Linked DNA regions of Homo sapiens: region 2 is linked to region 1. The links are contacts of gene promoters, found by promoter capture Hi-C in blood cells and fetal thymus (Javierre and others, 2016). All regions are on one chromosome and are shown on one strand. Each heading gives the region's core, a stretch centred on a gene start or on the middle of the fragment in contact. The rest is flanking DNA. Distances are from core to core; before and after follow the strand shown.

The links. Contacts are between HindIII fragments. The CHiCAGO score rates a contact against its expected background, and 5 or more counts as called.
Region 2: the fragment with the promoter of ACTL9 here is called in contact with the fragment with the promoter of HNRNPM in region 1 in 10 of 17 cell types (naive CD8 T cells, naive CD4 T cells, M2 macrophages and 7 more); the score reaches 12.8 in naive CD8 T cells.

What each region holds. Positions count from the first base shown.
Region 1 is chr19:8,441,165-8,447,531 of GRCh38, reverse strand. It overlaps HNRNPM (heterogeneous nuclear ribonucleoprotein M), which reads right to left and starts at 2,557. Exons shown (of 16, transcript NM_005968.5): 1 at 2,421-2,557. The coding sequence starts at 2,533. RefSeq lists silencers at 2,049-2,278, 2,519-2,798, 5,373-5,667. The HindIII fragment of the contact is 1,747 bases long and covers 1,169-2,915 here.
Region 2 is chr19:8,695,112-8,701,478 of GRCh38, reverse strand. It overlaps ACTL9 (actin like 9), which reads left to right and starts at 2,684. Exons shown (of 1, transcript NM_178525.5): 1 at 2,684-4,079. The coding sequence starts at 2,778. The coding sequence ends at 4,028. The HindIII fragment of the contact is 13,278 bases long and covers 2,441-6,367 here.

The sequences.
Region 1 (6,367 bases), core at 1,308-3,807:
AACCATCTTCTTCTCCTCCACTTCCACACGTCTTCCTGTCATGGAGGAACAGGTCCCTGCCCCCAGCAGGTGGCGGAGGTCACCTCCTCCATTCTTTCTACCAAGCAACTCCACTAACTTCTATCACAGCATAATTACCTTATGTTATGGTAATTACATAACATACATAACATACAAATATGTTAATGGCCTCTCCACTCTGCATGGAGTGCAAAAGTATAGGCTTCTAAAGAGATTTCCTTAAGACTTGTAATGAAAAAAAAAAAAAAAAGTTTTCCACAGGCCCTATCAAAAATATCCAAGTGTTGCCAGCTTCCTAAACTATCCTCTATGAAGCTAGTACTAGACTTTGAGACTTTGAGCCTCTTTCTCACAACGGCTATTTTATTCTACAATTTTCAGGTTCCAACAGTCCACATGTATTTGTAAAATGACTCAGTCACAAAATGACTATTTGAAAATGGACAGGGGAAAAGGGAAAATTTGTAATCTATTAATTTACCCTATCATCTAGCAAGGTTCTACCAGCACTCCTTCCTGCATACGGTAAATAAATTTATCTTAAAGCCCTCCAAATACCACCCTCAGAAATCCTACCAGCTTCCGTAGATAGACGCTGAAAAAGTCAAAATTAACACATTCCTTCCCAGAGTTTTCAATAGTAAAATGCTGGGAATAGAGGAAGTTTTTCTCATTTCTAAGGGCCAGTAACCATGGTATTTTATTTCTCCCTACTTAAGGAGGGAAAGAATCTGGAATTTTCTCCGGATTTATTATCTACCAATATAGCTAGCACTTAGGGAACGTTCTTAACCTAAGCGCTCAACTAGGCAGGGCGCAGTAGCTCATGCCTGTAACTTCAGCACTTTGGAAGGCCTAGGCAGGAGGATGGCTTGAACCCAGGAGTTTCAGACCAGCCTGGGCAACACCCGGAGACCTCCTCTCTTCAAAAAATTAGCCGGGCATGGTGGTGCCGCGCCTGTGATCCCAGCTACTCAGGAGGCTGAGATGGAAGGATCGATTGAGCCCAGGAGTTCGAGGCTGCAGTGATCTGTGATCGTGCCACTGCATCCCAGCTTGGGTAACAGAGGGAGACCCTGTCTCAAAGAAAAAAATTAAATATATAAGTGCTCAACCGCATTCACTTTTAATCTCCATAAACTAAGCTTCACACATTACAATATGAGGAAGGCAAAGTCACAGACAGAAAGGAAAGAAAACGGAGGGAGTTAGTATTTAATAGCTACACTTTCTGTTTCCGATGATGAAAAAGTTCTGGACATGAAGCAGTGACGGTTACAGCACACTGAGTCAGTATACTCAATGCCACTGAATTATACGCTTAAAAAATGGTTAAAATGGCAAAGTCTACGTTATGTCTATTTTACCACAATGAAATAAATGTCTGGGAAATTCAATGTGTACCCAGGCTTCCCCTTCCTTCCCGGCCGCTGATCTTGGAGCCAAAACCTCTCTGTCTCTCTTAAGTGTCTGTAATCAGAATGAATGAGTTTCACCGGGGCACAAGTCGATGCTTCCTCCTTTAAAGAAACTTTTAAAAGCCAAGGAGTCAAAGAGCCCCAAGCAGGACTCGAAAAGCTGATGAAGTCTGGAAGTAAATGAACCCGCCTCCTGACAGAACAGCTTCCCCGAAACACGGGAAAAAGGGGATTCCTCCCCCGACTTCGTATCTGTCTGCTTCCGAGGGTGAACGCTAAGCAGCAGATCCCATCTCTCCACTAATACCTGCGGCGCACCCGGGGAGGAGGAGCGGGAAACGGCGAGGGACTTGAGCCAGGGCCAGAGCGTGGGGCGAGGGGCGGTTCCGAGGGAGGCACTTCCCGCGGAGCGCGGTCGGCGCGCGGGGACTAAGGGGCGGGGCAGGAGGGGAGCCCCCCGACCCGGCTTCGCGGCCCTTCCTGACGCTTCCCTCGCTCGGTTACCGTTGACTCGGGCTGACTGCGCGCGAGGCCTCCCGGGCGCGCACCCTCTCTCCTCCCCCCACGTTACGGATCAGAAAACAGACCCCGGGAGGAGAGGGGACGGGGGGCTGAAACCCGGCCCCCGAGGTCACCCTCCCGGGGAGCGGTCGGGTAGGCCTCGGAGGCTCTCCGGTCCGGGCCCGCGCCATCAACCCCCATGCGCAGCAGCTGGGCCTGAGGCCTCGACTACGGGGTTGGCCCCGGCCTGGAGGGACTGAGGGTGGCGAGGCTCGAGGCCCGGTGTAGGGGACGATTCTGGAGGCTCCCCCGGCTCCCCGCTCACGGCCCTAGACGCCGCTACCCTGAGCAGGCGGTACGGGAACAGCCGGGGCCGAGGCCGCGCCGGGGCTAGGCCGCCAACAGACCTAACGGAGCCGCCGCCCGCGTCGGCCGCGGAGAGGAACCCTTACCCGTGGCAAAGGACCGTGGGATACTCACCCCTTAGGGCCCGGAGCCCCGTTGCCGCTCGGCACGCCGGGCGCGCCGCTCTCTTCCTCCATTTTGATCTCCGTCGCCGCCACCTCCGCCGCCGCTTCGACCCCTGCCGCCATTTTCTCCGCGTCTGGGCTTTGTGTGAGCGAACGGGCTGCACCGCGCTGCGCCTGCGCGCCCACGTGACCCGACGCAACCAGTAACACCTGCGCCCGCCGCTCCCGGCTGCCTCCTTGGCCCCACTCGCCCCGGGCCACGCCCCCGCCGCGCGCAGGCGCAGACCGGCAGCTGTTGATCGCTTCTCTCTCGAGATACACTCGCGTTAGGCACCGACTGGCTGTTCCCGGCGCGCGTCCTCTGAGTCCGATAGAGGAGGCATCTCCCCACCCCACCCCACACAAACACCTAGACCTAGTCACTCTCAGCTTTCTGTAACCAGAGCTGGAGCAGAGGGGAAGCAATGATCCTGTCTAGAGATTCCTGGAAGTTTTAGATGAAGCTTGTTCAACCCGCGGTCCGGCACACGATTCGTAAACTTTCTTAAAACATTGTGTCTTTTTGTGTGATTTTTTTCTTTTTGTAACGCAATTGCGCGGTTCTCCAGCGCGAACTTTGTAGGCAACAACGGAACGGCATGGAATAATATCAGAGTATTATCCGTAATTCGCATTATAATTGCAAACAGTTCGTCCAGAAGAAACGGAAAACTGTTAAAATTCACTAATAATGGGGCCAGGCGCGATGGCTCACTCCTGTAATCCCAGCACTTTGGGTATGGGAGGCCGAGGCGGCGGATCACCTGAGGTCAGGAGTTCGAGACCAGACTGGCCAACATGGTGAAACCGCGTCTCTACTAAAAATAAAAAAATTAGCTGGACGTGGTGGCGGGCGCCTGTAATCCCAGCTACTCGGGAGGCTGAAGCAGGAGAATCGCTTGAACCCAGGAGCCGGAGGTTGCAGTGAGCCGAGATCACGCCACTGCACCGCAGCCTGGGAGATAGACTGAGACTCCATCTCAAAAAACAAAAAGATAAGTATTGAGTACTGGGCTTAATACCTGGGTGATGAAATAATCTGTACAACAAACCTCCATGACAAGTGTTTACCTATTTAACAAACCTTCACATTTACCCCCAAACCTAAAAGTTAAAAACAAAATTAAAAAAAAAATTAATGGCTGGGCGCGGCAGCTCACGCCTGTAATCCTACCACTTTGAGAGGCCAAGGCGGGTGGATCACGAGGTCAAGAGATCAGACCATCCTGGCCAACATGATGAAACCCTGTCTCTACTAAAAATACAAAAATTAGCCGGGTGTGGTGGCAGGCGCCCATAATCCCAGCTACTGGGGAGCCTGAGGCAGGAGAATCGCTTCAACCCAGGAGGAGGAGGTTGCAGTGAGCCAAGATCGGGCCACTGCACTCCAGCCTGGTCACAGAGTGAGACCCCATCTCAAAAAAATTAAAAATAATAATAAAGAGCGAGAGGACTCTTGCAATGTTGCATAAAGTGAACTGTGACAGAATTCAGGGTGTATTCTGTACTAGGCATAATGCTGTATGGTCTTATTTTTGTGTGCATTCGTGGCATCAGTTTTATGGTGCTGTGCAGCCTCCAATGTGCCATTTTCCAAGTGCAGACAGTCGAATTGGCACCATCAGATGTTACGTGTGCTTGTGGCAACTTGGGCAGTAAGATGCAGCGATTATCTTTTTGAGACGGAGTTTCGCTCTTGTTGCCCAGACTGGAGTGCAATGGCGCCATCTCGGCTCGCTGCAACCTCCGCCTCCTGGGTTCAAGCGATTCTCCTGTCTCAGCCTCCCGAGTAGCTGGGATTACAGGTGCATGCCACCACGCCCGGCTAACTTTTGTATTTTTAGTAGAGACAAGGTTTCATCATATTGGTCAGGCTGGTCTCGAACTCCTGACCTCGTGATCCGCCTGCCTCAGGCTCCCAAAGTGCTGCGATTGTAGGCGTAAACCACTGCGCCTGGCCTTCAATGCAGCGATTATCAATAATATATTTTTTTCTTTTTTTGGAGACAGTCTTGCTCTGTCACAGAGGCTGGAGTGCAGTGGCACCATCTCAGCTCACTGCAACCTCCGCCTCCTGATTTCAAGCGATTCTTCTGCATCAGCTTTCCAAGTATCTGGGATTACAGGTGCACACCACGACGCCTGGCTAAGTTTTGTATTTTTTAGTAGAGATGGGGTTTTGCCATGCTGGCCAAACTAGTCTCAAACTCCTGACCTCAGGTGATCTGCCCACCTCAGCCTCCCAAAGTGCTGGGATTACAGGTGTGAGTCACCGTGCCCAGCCTATCAATAATATTTCAATCTACCTTTGTAAATGATAGCTCACTGCAACCTTGAACTCCTGAACTCAAGCGATCCTCCCCTGCTTAGCCTGTCAAGTAGCTGGGACTGTAGGTGCACGCCGCTGCACTTGGCTAATTTTTTATTTTTATTTTTTGGTACAGATAGGGTCTTGCCGTTTTTCCCAGGATGGTCTCGAACTCCTGAGCTCAAGGGATCCTACAGCCTTGGCCTCCCACAGTGCTGGGATTATAAGCGTGAGCCACTGTGCTGGTCCTTAGAGGATTATTAAAGACAGGTTAACACCAAACTAAAACTCTTCTCTATGAAAGTATTAGAATAGATTTGCAAAGAAAACACTTTTCCTTCTCTCTCTCTCTGTTTCTTTCTCTTTTTGTAGAGACAGGGTCTTGCTATGTTGGCCAGGCTGGTCTCTAACTCCCAGCCTTCAAGCAATCCTCCTGCCTTGGCCTCCTAAAGTGCTGGGATTTCAGGCATGAGTCACCCCATCTCGTCTCTCTCTTCCTCATGGCATGTCCTGAGGCATCTGTACATCAACTCCTGGGGCACCACAGGCCAAAGTTGGCCTGAGGAAAGATGGGTGTCAGGCTGTGTAGGGAGTTCAGCTGCAGGAGCAAGGAAGGCCCCCCCAAGGGGCAGGAGAGCTCATGCGCACTGGTGTGATGCTCCGTTTTTGCAGACCACTGGTGCGTCAGTCACCCCATGCCTAGGAGGCCCTGCCCATCTCTCCAGCCACCTGCCCCTCAATCACACTGCTCCAGCCCTGGGGTTCCTCCCTGCTGCTCTTCCTACAGGCTAAGCAGTTTCCAGCCTCTGGGCCTTTGTGCTTAGCTGTTTCCTCCACTCCCATGGCCACACAGGCTTCTCCTTGCCCTTCCAGTCCAGGCAGAAAGTTTTTCTTCCTTTGTGAGTGAGCTACATACCAGGCAGGGATTCATATGGAAAACAGACCTTGAGCAATCAGCTCCTCCACTCTGAGGCTCAGTTTGCTTAACTGAAAATATGGATAATAAGAAATGCAATGCACCAGGCTGGGCACGGTGGCTCACGCCTGTAATCCTAGCAGTTTGAGAGGCCGAGTCAGGTGGATCATTTGAGGTCAGGAGTTCAATACCAGCCTGGCCAATATGGCGAAACCCCATCTGTACTAAAAATACAGAAATTAGCCAGGCATGATGGTTGGCGCCTGTAGTCCCAGCTACTCAGGAGGCTGAGACAGGATAATTGCTTGAACTCGGGAGGTGGAGGTTGCAGTGAGCAGAGATAGTGCCACTGCGCTCTAGCCTGGGCAACAGGGCGAGACTCCGTCGAAAGAAAGAAAGAAAAGAAAGAGAGAGAGAGAGAGAGAGAAAGAAAGAAAGGCACCAGAACTCACCTTTCAGGGTTGCCCTGAGCTTTAAAAGCAGACAGATGCCAAGAGCCTTTAAATATAAAAGAATCGGCAGGCAGAAAGCGCTGAAGAAGTAGGTGTTGTTATTAGATTAACTGCATTCTGGGCCAGGCTCGGTGGCTCACGCCTGTAATCCCAGCACTTTAGGGGGCCGAGGTAGGTGAATCACCTGAGGTCAGGAGTTCGAGACCAGCCTGGTCAACATGACAAGACTTCATCTCTACTAA
Region 2 (6,367 bases), core at 1,435-3,934, 250 kb before region 1:
TCCTCATTTTATCCAAGAAGAGAGGAAATGGAGGCTCACAGAGTCCCAACCTTTGTTTCTGTTCTATTTTTAGTGGGTTTTTCTTGTTTGTTTGTATGTTTGTTTGTTTGTTTGTTCCTTGAGACAGGGTCTCGCTCTGTCACCCAGGCTGGGTGCAGTGGTGTGATCTTGGCTCACTGCAGCCTCCAACTCCTGGGCTCAGGTGATCCTCCCACCTCAGCATCCCTAGTATCTCGGACTACAGATGTGAGCCACCATGCCTGGCTGTTTTGGGTGGATCTTAGATTTCACAATTTCCCAGACTCACAGTCAGCCACTGAAGTAAGTCAAAGATGTAGGCTCAACTCCTGCCTCTGTCTCATACCAGTTGTGACTTTGAACAATCACTTGACCTCTCTGAGCTTCTTTTCCATCAAAAAAATAGACATAGTACCCATTCCTAAGTCATAAAGTTGCCATAAGAAGTTGCCATGTTTTAAAATCAGAAAATGAAGAAAGGCCAGGCATGGTGGCTAATCCCTGTCATCCCAGCACTTTGGGAGGTTAAGACAGGAGGATCACTTGAGCCCAGGAGCTCAAGATCAGCCTGGGCAACATAGCAAGACCCCATTTCTACAAAAAATTAAAAACTTATCCGGAGATAGTAGCACATGCCTATAGTCCCAGCTACTTTGGAGGCTGAAGTGGGAGGATTGCTTGAGACCACGAGGTTAAGGAGGCTGCAGTGAGCAGTGATTGCACCACTACACTCCAGCCTGGACAATATAGCAAGACCCAGTCTCAAAAAAAAATTGAAAACAATAAAGTGTTATCACTTAGTGTATTTCTGGTTGTTGTGAACAGTCCAAAAAACAGACCCTCAATAAATTGCTGAGTAAATATTTCCAAAAGCATGGATTAGACCACACATACCAGTAAATCAATAATTAATTAAAATGCTCAATAAACCACACTCTGGCAGAGTAATAAATCTAGACACAACTAGAAAATTAAACCTCTTTCATTTAGATATCCCATAAGACATTCACTAGCACTATTCCTGGTGATTTCTACCACCACATGCATGAACATACACTAAGAAAAACGTTTTTATTTGCTTTAACTAACAGGTGATATCTGATATCACCAAAAACAGCCATGGTCTTGAAGCAACTCTCCTAATGCATTTTGAAGCCTGCTATTTATTGTTGAGATAATTCCTTCCTCCCAAATGCACCCTCTCCCCTTTTATCTATACTGAAACCCCTTCTTGTATCTCACTGAGCCCCTCTCCTGCCAGGAGGAAGCAGGTAACAACCCCTGGAGAGAAGGCAGACTTCCCCCATCCCTCATCTAGTTGGAGTACAGAGTAGAAATCAGGGTTGGCTTCCAGGAGGAGGTGGCATCAGACTGAGATTTGAAGAGGCAAATTCCTTCTTGGCAGGAATGGGACAGGGAGAATGATTCAGGCAGTGAATATAGCAGAGGAAGCAAAGAATCTAGGACAGGGGTGTTCCTGTCTCTCCCTGCCTCTCTCCATCCCCAACCAAGGCTGGCCTCTGTCTCCATTTGGAAACCAGGAAGCCATGCTAGCCCGCCCCACCTTCTAATTAATATTCTGAGGAGGAATATTCTAATATTCTAGGGAGGCCTGTGGCAAGCTCTCTGCCACTAGGCTGTAAATAGCTTCATGGCGAGGTACCCAGAGGAGGATTCCTGGGTCTTCCTGAAAGCGTGGCCCAAAGAGTTAGAGAAACCAATTTTGCATGTTTTTAGTGAAACCATGCCCCAAAGAAATGTTTGAGCTTGCAGAATGGCAGATCAAAAAAGAAACAACTTGCTGAAATGCCTTCCACTTATGAGGGTTTTTTGTTTGTTTCTTTGTTTGTTTGTTTGTTTGTTTTGAGATGAGTCTCGCTCTGTCATACAGGCTGGAGTGCAGTAGCATGATCTTGGCTCGCTGCAACCTCCACCTCCCGGGTTCAAGAGATTCTCCTGCCTCAGCCTCCCTAGTAGCTGGGACTACAGGCATGTGCCACCATGCCTGGCTAATTTTTTTTCTTTTATTTTCTTTTTCTTTTGAGACAGAGTCTCACTCCATCCCCCAGCCTGGAGTGCGGTGGCATGATCTTGGTTCACTTCAACCTCCACCTCCTGGGTTCAAGTGATTCTCCTGCCTCAGCCTCCCCAGTAGCTGGGACCACAGGCATGCGCCACCATGCCAGGCTAATTTTTGTATTTTTTGGTAGAGACGGGTTTCACCATGTTGGCCAGGCTGGTCTCGAACTCCTGACCTCAGGTGATCTCCCACCTCGGTCTCCCAAAGTGCTGGGATTACAGGTGTGAGCCACAGCCCCCGGCCCCAGAACTTTTCTAATAAAATTACTGCCTTAAAGCCAGCTGAGAAACAGACTTGTGCTGGATTCCTAGCTCCCAGTGGGTTGACATGCAACAAAAAGCTTGTCTTTTCTCAAAAACCAGGTGCCATCGTATTAGCTTCTAGCGCATCCGACAGAAATGTGTTAAGAGGGCCCTGCTCTGAGATGCTCATCTCCTCCTCCAAATTTGGCTCTTCAGAGAAGAGATGACAGCCTTTGGGCAGGCAGGGCTGGGCAGGGACCCATCCTCTTGGCTGCATTGTGATGTCTTAAGAAGACTGAAGGGGCACCGTGACGTCATAGATTGCGGGCCCACCCCTCCCCCTGTCTGCCTGCCCTCCCCACTGGCCGGGCCTCAACCTCTTCTCCCCGCAACCCCAACCCCAGAGGAAAAGCCCCCTCACCTGGCGTCCCGCAACCATGGATGCAAGTCGCCCCAAGTCCTCGGAATCCCAGTCCTCCCTGGAGGCCCCCAGGCCCGGCCCAAACCCCAGTCCCAACGTGGTGAACAAGCCCCTGCAGCGGGACTCCCCCGGCATGGTGGCCGACAGGCTGCCACCAAAGACCGGCGCGGTGGTTATTGACATGGGCACAGGCACCTGTAAGGTAGGTTTTGCTGGGCAGGCCAGCCCCACCTACACCGTGGCCACCATCCTGGGCTGCCAGCCCAAGAAACCCGCCACCTCGGGGCAGTCCGGGCTGCAGACGTTCATCGGCGAGGCAGCCCGCGTGCTCCCAGAGCTGACGCTGGTGCAACCCCTGCGCAGCGGCATCGTCGTGGACTGGGATGCCGCCGAGCTCATCTGGCGCCACCTGCTGGAGCACGACCTCCGAGTGGCCACCCACGACCACCCGCTGCTGTTCTCCGACCCACCCTTCAGCCCGGCCACCAACCGCGAGAAGCTAGTGGAGGTGGCCTTCGAGTCGCTGCGCTCCCCAGCCATGTACGTGGCATCGCAGTCGGTGCTGTCTGTCTACGCCCACGGTCGTGTCAGCGGGCTGGTGGTGGACACGGGACACGGGGTCACCTACACAGTGCCCGTCTTCCAGGGCTACAACCTGCTCCACGCCACGGAGCGTCTGGACCTGGCGGGCAACAACCTGACCGCCTTCCTGGCGGAGATGCTGCTCCAGGCCGGCCTGCCCCTGGGACAGCAGGACCTGGACCTAGTGGAGAACATTAAGCACCACTATTGCTACGTGGCCTCCGACTTCCAGAAGGAGCAGGCCCGGCCGGAGCAGGAGTACAAGCGGACTCTGAAGCTGCCCGATGGGCGCACGGTCACCCTGGGCAAGGAGCTGTTCCAGTGTCCGGAGCTGCTGTTCAACCCCCCAGAGGTCCCGGGGCTGTCACCCGTCGGCCTCTCCACCATGGCCAAGCAGAGTCTCCGCAAGTTGTCACTGGAGATGCGCGCGGACTTGGCCCAAAACGTGCTTCTCTGCGGTGGGTCCTCGCTCTTCACCGGCTTCGAGGGTCGCTTCCGGGCAGAGCTGCTGCGCGCTCTGCCAGCCGAGACCCACGTGGTGGTGGCTGCCCAGCCCACCAGGAATTTCTCCGTATGGATCGGGGGCTCCATCCTGGCCTCCCTGCGCGCCTTCCAGTCCTGCTGGGTCCTGCGGGAGCAGTACGAGGAACAGGGTCCCTATATCGTGTACCGCAAATGCTACTGACCAGGGCAGAGCTGGGGAGGGCGTGGGGGCAGTAAAGCCTCTGCTACAGCCGGCTCTGTCCTGTCCTTCCTCCAGGGCCTGCCCCATCCACTCCTGGGCACCTCGCCCCACAGGCTGACCTAACTCACCTCCTGTGATGCATGCCCTGAGACACCCCAATCCTGACCCCCTAAACCCACCTTCCCCATGAATAACTCCCAACAGACCACTAAGTTCTAATCCTGTCAACCCATCCTCCTGTGATCTGTGCCCCTCCCCAGGCACCCTTGGGTTGGGACACCCCCTCCCCAGACCACCTCTGACAAGTGCCCTTCCCATTTACACACTCCCAGAGATGGGGAGTTCACTACCTCAAGGCTATTGTTAGAAATATCACCTCCTCCTATGAGTCATAGATAAGCCTCCACCTGGCACCTGCCCCCAACCCCAAACATGAAGAACATGAAAGCCTCTGACCACCCACCCCATGCCCACACACACCCCTAGGGTCTGCCACATACCCAAGCCACATACCCAATTCCTTCCATTTCTAGTTTAAGTGATTCATGCATTGATCCCACATACATTCATTAATTACCCACTATGTGCCCAAGACATCCTCAAATACTGACTCCCTAATCTCACCCCATTATCTATTGCTTTTGATATAGCATCCCAAAATACCCCTGGGCTCCAAACCCTCCAAACTGCCACCCCCCTTAGTATGCTCCTCAGGGACCCCCCAACCCAGTCTCTACCCCGGAATGCTCCAACCTCCTCCCAGAATCTTCCCGTGAGTGCTCCAACCCCTGGGTGCACCCCCATAATCTTCCCCTTATTTCTAATCCCCCCAAACACACTCTTAAATTCCACTTGTCAAGATTCCACTTGTCAAGATACCCCTGGTTCTCAGCACCCCAAATCCACCTCTTCATTGGTTTCCCCTAGGATGCCCCCCACAAGTGCTGACCCCCCAGATCCATCACAGAGACCTGAATTCTGACTTTCAAGGGTTTCTCCTACAATGGTCCCACCATGGGATGCCCCTGGCATCCATCATCCCTGCAGAACTCTCCCCTCCCCTCAGGATTTTTCCCCCAGACCTCCCCTGGCCCCACCTCCACTGACCAGGTGGTCCCATCACCCATCCCCCATCCATCTTCCCAAAACACATCATTCTGAGATCCACCCCCGAAACCCCAGGGTGGACCCCTGTTGCTCTAAGACCACTTTCTTGCACTGTGTCTCCGCCCGAAATACTCCCAAATGTTCTCTCTCACAGGACACTTCCTGACCCTCTTCCTCAGCCCCCAGCTCCTCCCAGGAAAGAGCCAGCCTCCCAAATGTCATGCTCAGGTCCCCATGAGCATCCTATAACGACCCCACTAGACCCTAGGCCCTCCTCTGTGTTCCAACACCTCCCAACTCCCTCCTCCACAGACTCTCCCAAAGATACCCTCCCAGGCACCCCATGATGTGCACCCCGCCCTGGAACTCTCACAGGCTCTCCGGAACCCACTCCCCAAGACCATTCCCTGGACACCATACTATCAAGCAAGACTTGGACATCAGTGGGTAGTGATACTCTTAAGGGCTTCCCAGTCCACTGCAGTCATGGGGCAGATGCCCCAGGCAAGGAGCTTCACCTGGACACTGGCTCTCTCACTCGCCCCAGCACAGGCACCCAGGGCCCATGTGTCCCAGGCTATGCATCCCCATCTCCCTCCATTCCATTAAAAGTCCATCTCTCAGCCTGTTCCTCTCAGTCCCATGAGCTTTCTCTGGGTTGTGCACTGAGGATGCTCGAGGAGGCCTCTCCCACCCCACCCTGTCCCTGCCAGGGTCGGGAGGGGGAATCCAGCCTCTCAGGATGGCGAGCGTCCTGGGTCCCCTCTGGAGGTAGGACCCTCTGTCTTCATGCCCCCTAGCCCAGCCTGAAGGACATCCGGACCTCCAGCCAGCAGTCTGGACACAACCCCCAGTTTATCAACACAGTAGACAGGAGCTGCTGGAGGTTATCCATGTCTGTGTCAAGTCCTCTTTTTGCTCAGCCCAAGAAATCATTCATTCACTCATTCATTCATTCTTTCAGCCAGTCACTATTTAAGGAGCATCACTCACAGGATCTGTAGGCTCCTGCTGTGTCTTTCTGTGCATTGCTAACTTTTCAGGAGTTTTGTGCTCAGTTGCTGTGTTTGTTTGTTTGTTTGTTTGTTTGTTTGTTTGTTTGTTTTTGAGACAGGGTCTCGCTCTGTCACCCCATCTGGAGTGCAGCCGCATGATCATGACTCGCTGCAGCCTCAGCCTCCCCCAGCTCAGGTGATCCTCCCACCTCAGCCTCCCGAATAGCTGGGACTGCA